2 separate regions of the Homo sapiens genome follow, and region 1 is linked to region 2. Evidence: promoter capture Hi-C in 16 types of primary human blood cells and fetal thymus (Javierre and others, 2016). All regions are on one chromosome and are shown on one strand. The core of a region is centred on a gene start or on the middle of the fragment in contact, and the rest is flanking DNA. Distances in the headings are between cores, read along the strand shown.

The links. The method cuts DNA at HindIII sites, captures the fragments that hold promoters and counts their contacts. A CHiCAGO score of 5 or more calls a contact.
Region 1: a fragment that was not itself captured here is called in contact with the fragment with the promoter of RNF122 in region 2 in 1 of 17 cell types (M2 macrophages); the score reaches 5.0 in M2 macrophages.

The regions. Positions count from the first base shown.
Region 1 is chr8:38,789,303-38,794,967 of GRCh38, reverse strand. All of the region lies in intron 2 of TACC1 (transforming acidic coiled-coil containing protein 1), which reads right to left. Among named protein-coding and RNA genes, the nearest start is that of TACC1, 4.9 kb to the right of the region's middle. RefSeq lists an enhancer at 703-997. The HindIII fragment of the contact is 2,505 bases long and covers 324-2,828 here.
Region 2 is chr8:33,565,712-33,570,924 of GRCh38, reverse strand. RNF122 (ring finger protein 122) reads left to right here and starts at 3,797. Exons shown (of 6, transcript NM_024787.3): 1 at 3,797-4,226. The coding sequence starts at 4,202. RefSeq lists silencers at 3,913-4,032, 4,083-4,152, 4,183-4,232, 4,373-4,422. The HindIII fragment of the contact is 8,620 bases long and covers 2,835-5,213 here.

The DNA of each region.
Region 1 (5,665 bases), core at 327-2,826, 5.2 Mb before region 2:
ATTATACAGTACAAAAAAATCAAACTGTGGAAGAGGCAATCACAGCAAAACATTAAAAATTTAAAATTAAATTAAAAGCATTAGGCTGCGATGCTGTTGAAGGAGCCACATGGGTTGGACTGCTGGACTAGGTAATATGAAAGGTCCTAATTAGTCCCATTATTTCTAGGAAACTCTAATAAAGCATTCCCTTGTTGGAGCAGGGAAAGGATGTTAAACTAAATCCTTAGGAGGATATACTTGTAGACTTGAATGGAACACTTCAATATGTACCTAATGAAAATTTTTCACATAGTATCTGATTAAACATATAACTCAAAGCTTTAGAATAAAAAATCAAAGCCTCTGATTTTAACAAGGTTTCCATGCTGTGTTTTCTATAGCACGCACACACACACACACACAAACAAACACACACACACGTGCAGTCTAAAACATTCTAAAAATACACCATATCAACCTTTTAAGAGATCTGCACAGTCAACTTACAAATTCTCATACACCCGAAGTTACATTAAAGACATTTAATGGGTTGGGTGAGGCTGGCTCATGCCTGTAACCCCAACACTTTGGGAGGCCAAGGTGGGAGGATCACTTGAGCCCAGGAGTTCGAGACCAGCCTGGGCAACACAGTGAAACCCCATCACTATTTTTTTAAAAAAAATTTAAGAAAATAAAATGTTAAAAAAAATTTAATGGGCAAAAGTTAAAAGTCTATGTGTTTGTACTTCTATTAAATGATTCCAATATTCTCCCCATTCTTCCCTAATTTCCTTTTTAAATAATTTTTATTCCTCCTTAGATCTTTGAGTCAATTGAAAATCAAGTTCATTGCAGACCAATTACATCACTTCCCCTTTGCAAATATGACAAATAGCCAGGCCACATCAGGCTCTCCCCTGGGCCTTCCCTGAACATGCAGGCCTAGACTAATGGCACCTCACGCCCACAGTTCATTTGTTCAGCAGGTATAACCTTGCACCTTTTCATTCTTAAAGCCATTTTCCCAAATTACTTAAACTCTGTATTTTTACTGAAATTGTAATAAGTATAGATGTAGGTTGACATTTTTTTTCTGTACAAGATAGTAAATATGTTAGACTTTTGCCAGACATTTGGTCTCTGTTCCAAGTACTCAACCCAGCTATTGTAGAGCAAAAGCAGCCATAGACAATACATGAATGAATGAGTATGGCTGTATTCCAATAACTTTATTTATGGGGATGACAGTGGTGGTTCAAACCTGAAATCCCAGCATTTTGGGAGGCTGAGGTGGGAGGATCACTTACTTGAGCCCTGGAGCTCAAGATCAGCCTGGGCAACATAGCAAGACCCCATATCTACCAAAATATATATTTCATATATATATAACTTGATGGGCCCTGAAATTTTGTTTTGTTTTTTTTTAAGAACTACTTTATTGAGATATAATTCACAAACCATACAGTCCACCCTTTAAAATATATGATGCAATGGTTTTTAGTAAATTCACATAATCGTGTGACCATTGATGGGCCCTGAAATTTGGATTTCACATTATTTTCACACATCACCATTAAACCATCAAAAAATGTAAAACTCATTCTTCTGTTCAGGGCCATGCAAAAAAACAGGACAGGCAGGGCTTGGTCTATGAGTCACAGTTTGCTGATTCTGATCGAGACTACCAAAATTGTGTCAACAAACAACTTGGCATTCCCTCACAGGCCTGAGGCAGTAAATATCTGTGCACAGATCCCATTTATCTCTTTTCTTCTATTCTGGGGAAAAGTCCAGAGAACTACAGTTTGTGTTTGAAATACCTAGGCATTTAATTAACACATCAAACTGGAGAGGTTTAACGAGTTGTTCCAAGGGTGATGTGAGAGCTTCTACACTAATTAAGATTCTCTTTCTCAGAGAGAGGTAACAATCTGTAGATAAAGGTGTGTGTGTTTGGGGAAGGGGGGCTATGTTGGTGAAGGAGAAACTCAAGGGGCAGAGGGCACCCACTGCAGTTTTTGTGACTGAAACAGCTACACAAAGCCACAACCCCTAAGTCCTCCATAAACACACATGCAAACACAAAAGCCAGGCATGGTAGCTCACGCCTGTAATCCCAGGACTTTGGGAGGGTGAGGCAGGAGAATCCCTTTAGGCCAGGAGTTCGAGATCAGCCTAGGCAACATAGCAAGACCCTATCTCTACAAAAAATAAAAAAACTGGCCAGGCGTGGTGGCTCACGCCTGTAATCCCAGCACTTTGGGAGGCCAAGGCGGGCGGATCACGAGGTCAGGAGATCGAGACCATCCTGGCTAACACGGTGAAACCCCGTCTCTACTAAAAATACAAAAAATTAGCTGGGCGTAGTGGTGGGCGCCTGTGGTCCTAGCTACTTGGGAGGCTGAGGCAGAAGAATGGCGTGAACCCAGGAGGCGGAGCTTGCAGTGAGCCGAGATCGCACCACTGCATTTCAGCCAGGGCAACAGAGCGAGACTCTATCTCAAAAAACAAAACAAAACAAAAAATTAGCCAGGCATGGTAGTGTGTGCCTATAGTCCCAGCTACTCAGGAGGCTGAGGCAGGAGGATCATCTGAGCCCAGGAGTTGGAGGCTGCAGTAAGCTATGATCATACTACTGCACTCCAGTCTAGACATAGATCCTGTCTCAAAGCAAAACAAAACAGAGGATGAACTTGAGATTGTACCTCCTCAAAAGTCCATTCCTAGAGGATGTTTCTTCACCAATATATTTCCCAGCAAAGAGAAAGACCACCACAACAGCAGCAGCATTAAACAACTTTAGTGGGAGAAAACAGACAGATAGCAAATACAGACCAGCCCAAGCTTTACAGCTACCAGTCTGGTTATTTCCAGGAAATATCTTTAGCTAGAGTTTTATTTTACCAGTAAGCCTAAAACCTGCTTCTATATGTGGCTTCAAAAAAAATCTACAACCTTATCCGCCACTTAACTCCTGGCATACAACTCTTAGGAAGAGTCATTATAGAGTTTAGATACTGCAAGTTCCTAAAGCAGTTCCAGTATAAGAAAAGTCATTTCAAAATAGTCTTAGATGTTTCCCTGAGTTCAAAGAACTATACAGAAGTCAGCACAGGAGCCATGGGTATGGTAAATGTAGCCCACACGTTTGAGGGCCATTATGTACCAGGAAGCCAGAATGTTTACATATTTCAACTCCAACTCCTGACTAACTCCTCGTAAATCATTCTTCCAGAATGATTTAGTCTTATATAATTTATAACTGCGGTCCAACCATGTCTTGGAACCACAAAAGTATGAAAGACTATCTTTACCAGGAACAAAACAATCAATAATTTTGGGAGAAAGGGAACTTATCCAGTCCCAGAAATTAAACTTCAATATGAAATGACTCTGAAGGGCTTTCTGCCCACTGAAATCCTCTCCAGGCAGACCTGTGCTCTGGCTGTCTTTGCACATTTGCTGTGTATGTGTGACAAGGCCATTGGCGGTACTCTGGACTAGCTCCGGATGTTGCACCCAAGGACCCTGGAAGTCAGGGTACGACCAGGTTGATGAGCAATCATCCTATTGTTTAAAGACCCTAAACTGAAAGCCTTCATAATATGCAGGGTTGTTTCCTGGACTGGACACTCCTCTACCCCTACAATTACAGTCTGCATTCATGAACTACCCCATAGAGCCTTCATGATCCATAAACATTTAAAAGTTTTCCTTTTAGAGAGAATGAAAAAAATGTGAGAGTCACTGGTACAGGAAGGACCAAACAATTGGGTCTCTGTGGTTTTGGGGGCCTAGGTCATCCAGGCCTCTATTCAATTGGCAAAGAATCTGGCGGGATGAATCAGTCTAGCAGCTGACAAAACGATGAGGAAGGGCCGCCCAAGCTGATGGCAATTCAAAAAGGCTTTCAAACAGCTCCTTAACATGTGTCTTATGAGCTTTATTTAAATTTGATGGAAAGGCCACCAAATAGTTCTTTCAAGCTTCAAAATCTCCCTTCTGATCTGCCAATCTTTACGGAAGAAAAGGGAAGCTATGAGGAATAAGTGTTATCTTCATCACTGAGAGTGCTACACAGCTATGCGTCGCACACAAATTCTCCAGTATATAAGCTTGCCTATTCCCATGTTGTCCCTGCCTAGAACAATGGCAAAATGCAGCCTAGGGCAAGTTGAGGGTATTGCTGAATTCTCAGCTGGGTAAGCACAGCATGGAGCTATCAATTTAAAGCAAAACCAAATCAGCTTTTTGCTGATGTCATTTTACCAATAATTCCAGCTCCATCATGCAGTCTATTACCAGAGTAACTTGACTTCCCTAGGCAACCTACGAAGAAGTTGCTAAGCAATAAAAATACTTATTAGGGAGAGGAGAAAGTCACAATCAGCACAAAGTTTAGGTAGCTAGATAACTGAAAGCTGGCGCTGCCACTTCAGGGTGACAGTGCCAGATACTGGAACAGAGAAACCACATAAAAAGGACTTCCATCCTAGAGTCCCTTCTCCACACAGCAGCCCAGGGAGCCTTTTACAAAAGAAGCTGAATCACAATCCCTCTGTTCAAAGCTCTCTGTTGTGGGCTGAATTATGTCTCTCAAAATGATATGTTAAAGTCCCAACTCCTAGTACCTATGAATGTGACCTTATCTAGAAATAGTATCTCTGAAGATGTTACCAAGTTAAGATGAGGTCAAACTGGATTAGGGTGGGCCCTAACTTCAACGACTGGTGTCCTCACAGGAAGGGCACGGTAAGACAGATACATAGGGAGAAGATGGCCATGTGTTGAGACAGAGACTGGAGTTCTGCTGCCACAAGCCAAAGAACACAAAGGATTGCAGACACCCAGCAGAGGCTAGAAGAGGCAAGGACAGACTTCCTGGAGCCTTCAGAAGAGCAAGGCCCTGCCAACACCTTGACTTGAGACTTCTGGTTCTGATTTCAATTATCCAGGACTGTGAGAGAATAATTTCTGTTATTGTAAGCCGCTAAGTTACTCTGTTATGGCAGCCCTTGGAAATGCATATGCCCTCCAGTGGCTTTCCACCTTACTGAAAACCAAATCCTCACTGCAGCAGCATCTGGACCTCCTCTGACCACGCTGACTTCAGCTCCTCCTGCTCTCTGAGTAGTCAGTCCACACTGACCTCCTGGCTGGTCCTCAAACTGTACCATGAACCCTCCACCTTACGGCCTCCCTGCAGCAGGCTGGTGCTGTCAGACCTTTGCAGATGCCACTCCTTCTGCTGGAAGGGTTCCCACCTCAGGAACCTCCAAGGCCTGCTCCCTCAATCTGCCTTCAGGTCTCTGTTCAAGTCACCTAATCATGAATGCCCCCACTAACTCCCCTTCAGCCTTCCCTATCCCCACTCCATATTCCCTATTCTCTTCCCCTGCTTTATTTTTCTCCACAGTGCTTCACACAAGCTGACATAGATATTTTGCTTAACCCTTCACAGGTTCTCCCTCCACAATGTTAGCTCGAGAGAGCAGGACTTCACTGCTGAATCACAGTGCACTCTATTTAGTAAATAAGCATATGAATTCTGTTGGGATAGGTGAAATTTTATTCTGAACTGGCTGTGTGACAAAAAAGGTTTCTACTAATTAAGTGAGACAACGGAAGCTCCTGCAGATGAAGGGCTGGGCTCTGAGGGGCTGGGAGGGAATCCATGTGCCAG
Region 2 (5,213 bases), core at 2,548-5,047:
CTAAAGATGAAAGGAGGTGATTCAGGCCTTTTCCCCCATGCACCTCCACAGAATTGACTGCTTCTCTCCAGAGTGTTTCTCTAATGTTCACAAGGCCTTAAAATGAGGGGGCTCACGGAGTGTCTAAGAGGAAGCTGGAGTCAGGCAGTGGGAATAAAAAGAATCCCTTGACTCCTCAGAAGCTTTCCTAGGCCAGGCACGGTGGCTCCTGCCTGTAATCCCAGCACTTTGGGAGGCCAAGGCTGAGGGATTGCCTGAGTTCAAGAGTTTGAGACCAGCCTGGGCAACATGGCGAAACCCCAGAAAATTAGCCAGGCATGGTAGTATGCGCCTGTAGTCCCAGCTGGTCGGGAGGCTGAGGTGGGAGGATCGCTTGAGCCTGGGAGGTGGAAGTTGCAGTGAGCCGAGATGTCACCACTGCACCACTGGGTGACAGAGCAAGACCCTGTATAAAAAAATTAATTAATTTTAAAAAAAAGTTTTTCCGGAAGTTTAGTATTATTTTTTCCCTTTCCATGGAAGATTTTAAAACATATTTCTTTCTTTTCTTTTCTTTTGTCTTGCTCTGTTGCTCAGGCTAGTGTCTAGTGGCACAATCATAGCTCACTGCAGCCTTGAACACCTCAGCCTCTGGAGTAGCTGGGACTACAGGCATGTGCCGCCATGCCCAGCTGATGTTTATTTTTTGTAGAGATGGGGTCTTGCTATGTTGTCCAGGCTGGTCTCCAACTCCTGGCTCAAGCTCCTTCACCTCAACCTCTCAAAGTGCTGAGGTGTGAGCTACCACACCCATCCTAGAAACATATTTCTACCTCATATTTATCAAGTAGCTTTGAATATATGGCCCATCATCTTCTTTACTGTTTCAGTTTCTTCCTCAATAAACCAAACTAGTCTTCCTGACTCATGTGGAGCTGAGTCACCTGGTGGTGAGGGTGGAGGAGTGAGAGATCTAAATTTGGTTGACATGGTGTGAGAAATCAGCTTATCTTTCATAGAACCCTTCAGTCCAGGAAAATGCTGGGACTGAACCAATCATTTCAAAGATGCCCAGAACCAAAGCCCTTCTACCAACATATAACTCCCAATGTCAGCCATCAGTTGAGGTCCTGTGGCCACACTGGCCAGGAGGGACGAAGGGAGGAGAGTGTGAAGGGATACAGCAGTTTTTCGAAATTGGAGTCCTTAAGTGCCTCTGGAGATCTTATTGAATGCTTAAAATATCAGGCTTAAAATATAAATTGTTGCACCTGTAATCCTAGCTGCTCAGGAGGCTGAGGCAGGAGAATCACTTGAACCTGGGAGGCGAAGGCTGCAGTGAGCTGAGATCAAGCCACTGCACTCCAGCCTGGGCGACACAGAGCAAGACTCCGTTTCAAAAAAAGAAGAATTTCCATCATTCCTACCTTTAAGGGTGTTTTCCTTCCAAGAACCTCTAGTCCAAAGGCGAGTGGGACGGGAGGTGTTCCTCACTTCCCATCAATTTTCCCTTCAAAGGCTCTCCTTCTTTCACAGTCTGGCGCTGGAGGCAGTTAGCAGGAGAGCCTTAATAAAATTAGGATTACCCATCACATCTCTCCCCCGAGCCAATGAATAGAAAGAACAATAGTTACCATTATGCACACTTTTTTTTTTAAAGACTTTATTTTTCAGCGTAGTTTTAGGTTCACAGCAAAATTGAGAAGAAGGTACAGAGTTCTGATACACCCCCAGCCCCACACATGTATAGCCTCCCCCATTAATCCTAGCACTTGGGAGGCTGAAGCAGGCAGATAGCCTGAGCTCATGAGTTTGTGACCAGCCTGGGCAACGTGGCTAAACCCAGTCTCTACAAAAAAAAAAAAAAAAAAAAAATTAGCCGGGCATAGTGGTGAGTGCCTGTAGTGCCAGCTACTCAGGAGGCTGAGGTGGGAGGATGGCTTGAACCCAGGAGGTGGAGGTTGTAGTGAGCCAAGATCATGCAACTGCATTCAAACCTGGGCAACAGAACCAGACCTTGTCTCTAAATAAATAAAAACAACAACAAAAAAGAATATACACAGCCTATGTTCAAGGAAGAGTAACAACAAAAAGCTTCATGGCTGATGAATAGTGTGTGGTGAAGGGGAGTATTTGAGTATGAGGAAGACTGAAACAAATAAGGCTAGACTGAAACACTTTATTTTAATAGTTTTTTCTTTTTTCTTTTTGAAACAGAGTAGTCTCATTCTGTCGCCCAGGCTGGAGTGCAGTGGCACAATCACAGCTCACTGCAGCTGCATCCTCGACTTCTCGAACTCCAGTGATTCTCCCACCTCAGCCACCAGAGTAGCTGGGACCGCAGGTGCGCACCACCAGGCCCAGCTAATTTTTGTATTTTTTTTACAGGTGGCTTCACCATGTTGCCCAGGATGGTCTCAAACTCTTGAGCTCAAGCAATCTGCCCGCCTCAGCCTCCCGAAGTTTTGAGATTATAGGAGTGAGTCTAGACTGAAACATTTTGAATGCCACACTCTAGTTTACAGAACTTTATTCAGTAAACACTGGAGACCAACAAACGTTATCAAGCAAAGAAATGTTCAGATTTACATTTTACAGAGATAATTGTGACCAGAAGGGATGGACTTGAGAGTGAAATCAGAGCACTGTTTCTTTCAATAGCCGCATGAGAATTTGAGGGGTGGGGAAGACAAGGCACATTAAAATGAAAATTTCTGGGTCCACCCTTTATTGAATCAGAATCTCTGGGTTCAAGGCCTGGGAATCTGCATGTTACATCTCAAACATAGGAGTGATTCTTGTAGGCTCTGAAGTCTGAGCTATAGACTAGAATCAGAATGGCCAGTTAGGAAGCTTTTGCAATTATCCAATTAAGAAATGAAATGTCCTGGGTGCCATGGCTCATGCCTGTAATCCCAGCAATCTGGGAGGCTCAGGCGGGAGGATCACTTGAGTCCAGGAGTTCGAGACCAGCCTGAGCAACATAGTGAGGCCACTCATCTATACAAAACAATTAAAAAGTAGCTGGGCTTGGTGGCAGGCACCTGTGGTCCCAGTTTCTTGGGAGGCTAAGGTGGCAGGACTGCTTGGGCCCAGAAGTTGGAGGCTGCAGTAAGCTATTATTGCACCGCTGCACTCCAGCTGAGTGACAGAGCAAGACTCTAACTCAAAAAAGAAAAAGAGGGCCGGGAGCGGTGGCTCACGCCTATAATCCCAGCACTTTGGAAGGCTGAAGCAGGAGGATCACTTGAGGCCAGGAGTTCGAGAACAGCCTGTCCAACATGGCGAAACCCCGTCGCTATTAAAAATACAAAAATTATCTGGGCATGGTGGTAAGCGCCTGTAATCCCAGCTACTCAGGAGGCTGAGGCAGGAGAATCACCTGAACCCGAGAGGCAGAGGTTGCAGTGAGCTGAGATCGCGCCGCTGCACTCCAGCCTTGGCGATAGAGGCAGACTCTGCCTCCAAATACATAAGTAAATAAATAACAGATCTGTAGGCGGAAAACAATGTGGCAGTAATTGTTCCTTTGCCTTGGTGTCCCTGGGCAAAAGGCAGGCCCCCACTCCGGGGCATCGCTCGTCGCCGCTCCATTCTCTGCAGACCGAAGTTTCCCCAGGCCTGGGAAGACTAAGTGGGAGGCGCCCACCGTGCGAAGATCCTCCCGGCTTCCAGGGAAGGGAGGCTGGGCCTGCAAATAATAGCCGGGGGCAGGAGAAAGGCTCCGATTGGTCGGAGGGAGGGTGACGAACAAGGGGCGGAGTTTTCCTGGGGACTGGTGGGGGAAGTAAAAGGGAGGGGGTGTGCACCGCCGGGTGTCAGTTTCGGAACCCCAGCCAGCTCACCTCTGCGCCGCTGAACCCGATCCGAGCCTCCGGCAAAGGTTTTTCCCTCCTCCCCCGGCCGAGGGCTTCTGCAGCCCGGGCACCCCCGCCCCGCGGCGCCCCACATTCCCCCAGCCCGGGGCCCTTGGCGCGTGCGCTCCGTGCGGCTGTGCTCCGCGGGACTTTGTTTGTTTCCTCCTCGTCCCTCTTTGTTGGGCTGAACACCAGCCTCGTCAAAGCCCCCCACTCCGGAGGGAGTTCGGCTTCTCCAGCAGGGCGGCTGCAGCGCGCTGCCCCGACCCCGCCTGCGGCCCCTCACGCCGCTAGTGCTCCCACCCCGCCCTCCTGGCACCCCGCCTGCGTCCGTTCGCCCGAGGAAGCCAACCGCGACTTCATTGATGCACCCATTCCAGTGGTGTAACGGTGAGTCCCCGGGGCGAGGGCCGAGCCTACGTGGGGCTGGTGGGAGCCGCGGCGCGGGGTGCGAGGTCGGACAGCAGCGCGCTGGTCCTCCCTCGGGAACCAAGTTTCTCCTGAAATGGGACAGTCGAGAAGGCGTCTTGGCGCCCCACTCTGCTCTGCACAGCGCGGAATTTGAAACTATCCAGGTTTCACTCCAGAGCCTGGAAGGGGCCTCCGGACTGGCGGCGGGCCGGGGGCGTGGGAGCCGAGGGGTTCCCGGCCTTTGTGTGGCGGCCCGGCTCTTCTACCCCCTTCCCCTGCCTTTGTGCGCTCAAACTCTGTTCTTTGTTGTGGTTGTTGGAGGAGAATTAAATCCGCACTCGGGCTGGGATCTCCTAGAGGGAGCTCAAGTTCCCGGCCTGAAACTTTGCAGGCTATTGTAAATATGTATACCGTGCAGCGTGCGGGACTGGGCGCGGGGGTAGCTTCCTCTGGCTTTGTTGGTTTCCCACGGGCTGCTGGCGTGGCTTGGGTGCTTGCGGAAGACTGGATTAAAGAGTCGCTTTCGGCCAGGCGCGGTGGCTCACGCCTGTAATCCCAGCACTTTGGGAGGCCGAGGCGGGCGGATCACCTGAAGTCGGGAGTTCGAGACCAGCCTAACCAACATGGAGAAACTCCGTCTCTACTAAAAATACAAAATTAGCCGGGAGTGGTGGCGCATGCCTGTAAGCCCAGCTACTTGGGAGGCTGAGGCAGGAGAATCGCTTGAACCCAGGAGGCGGAGATTGCAGTGAGCCTAGATCGTGCCATTACACTCCAGCCTGGGCAACAAGAGCGAAACTCCATCTAAAAAAAAGCCGTTTTCCTGAGTTGATAAACCCTCGCAGAGAGCTCCGCGCCCGGCTGTCCCTGGGGTGCGAGGCTGGCCTGGCGGGAGCCGTGTTTCTGGCCACAAGGCCAGATTAGGGTGTCTGCTCCTGAGCCCAAGTGAAGGCCACACCTCCAGAC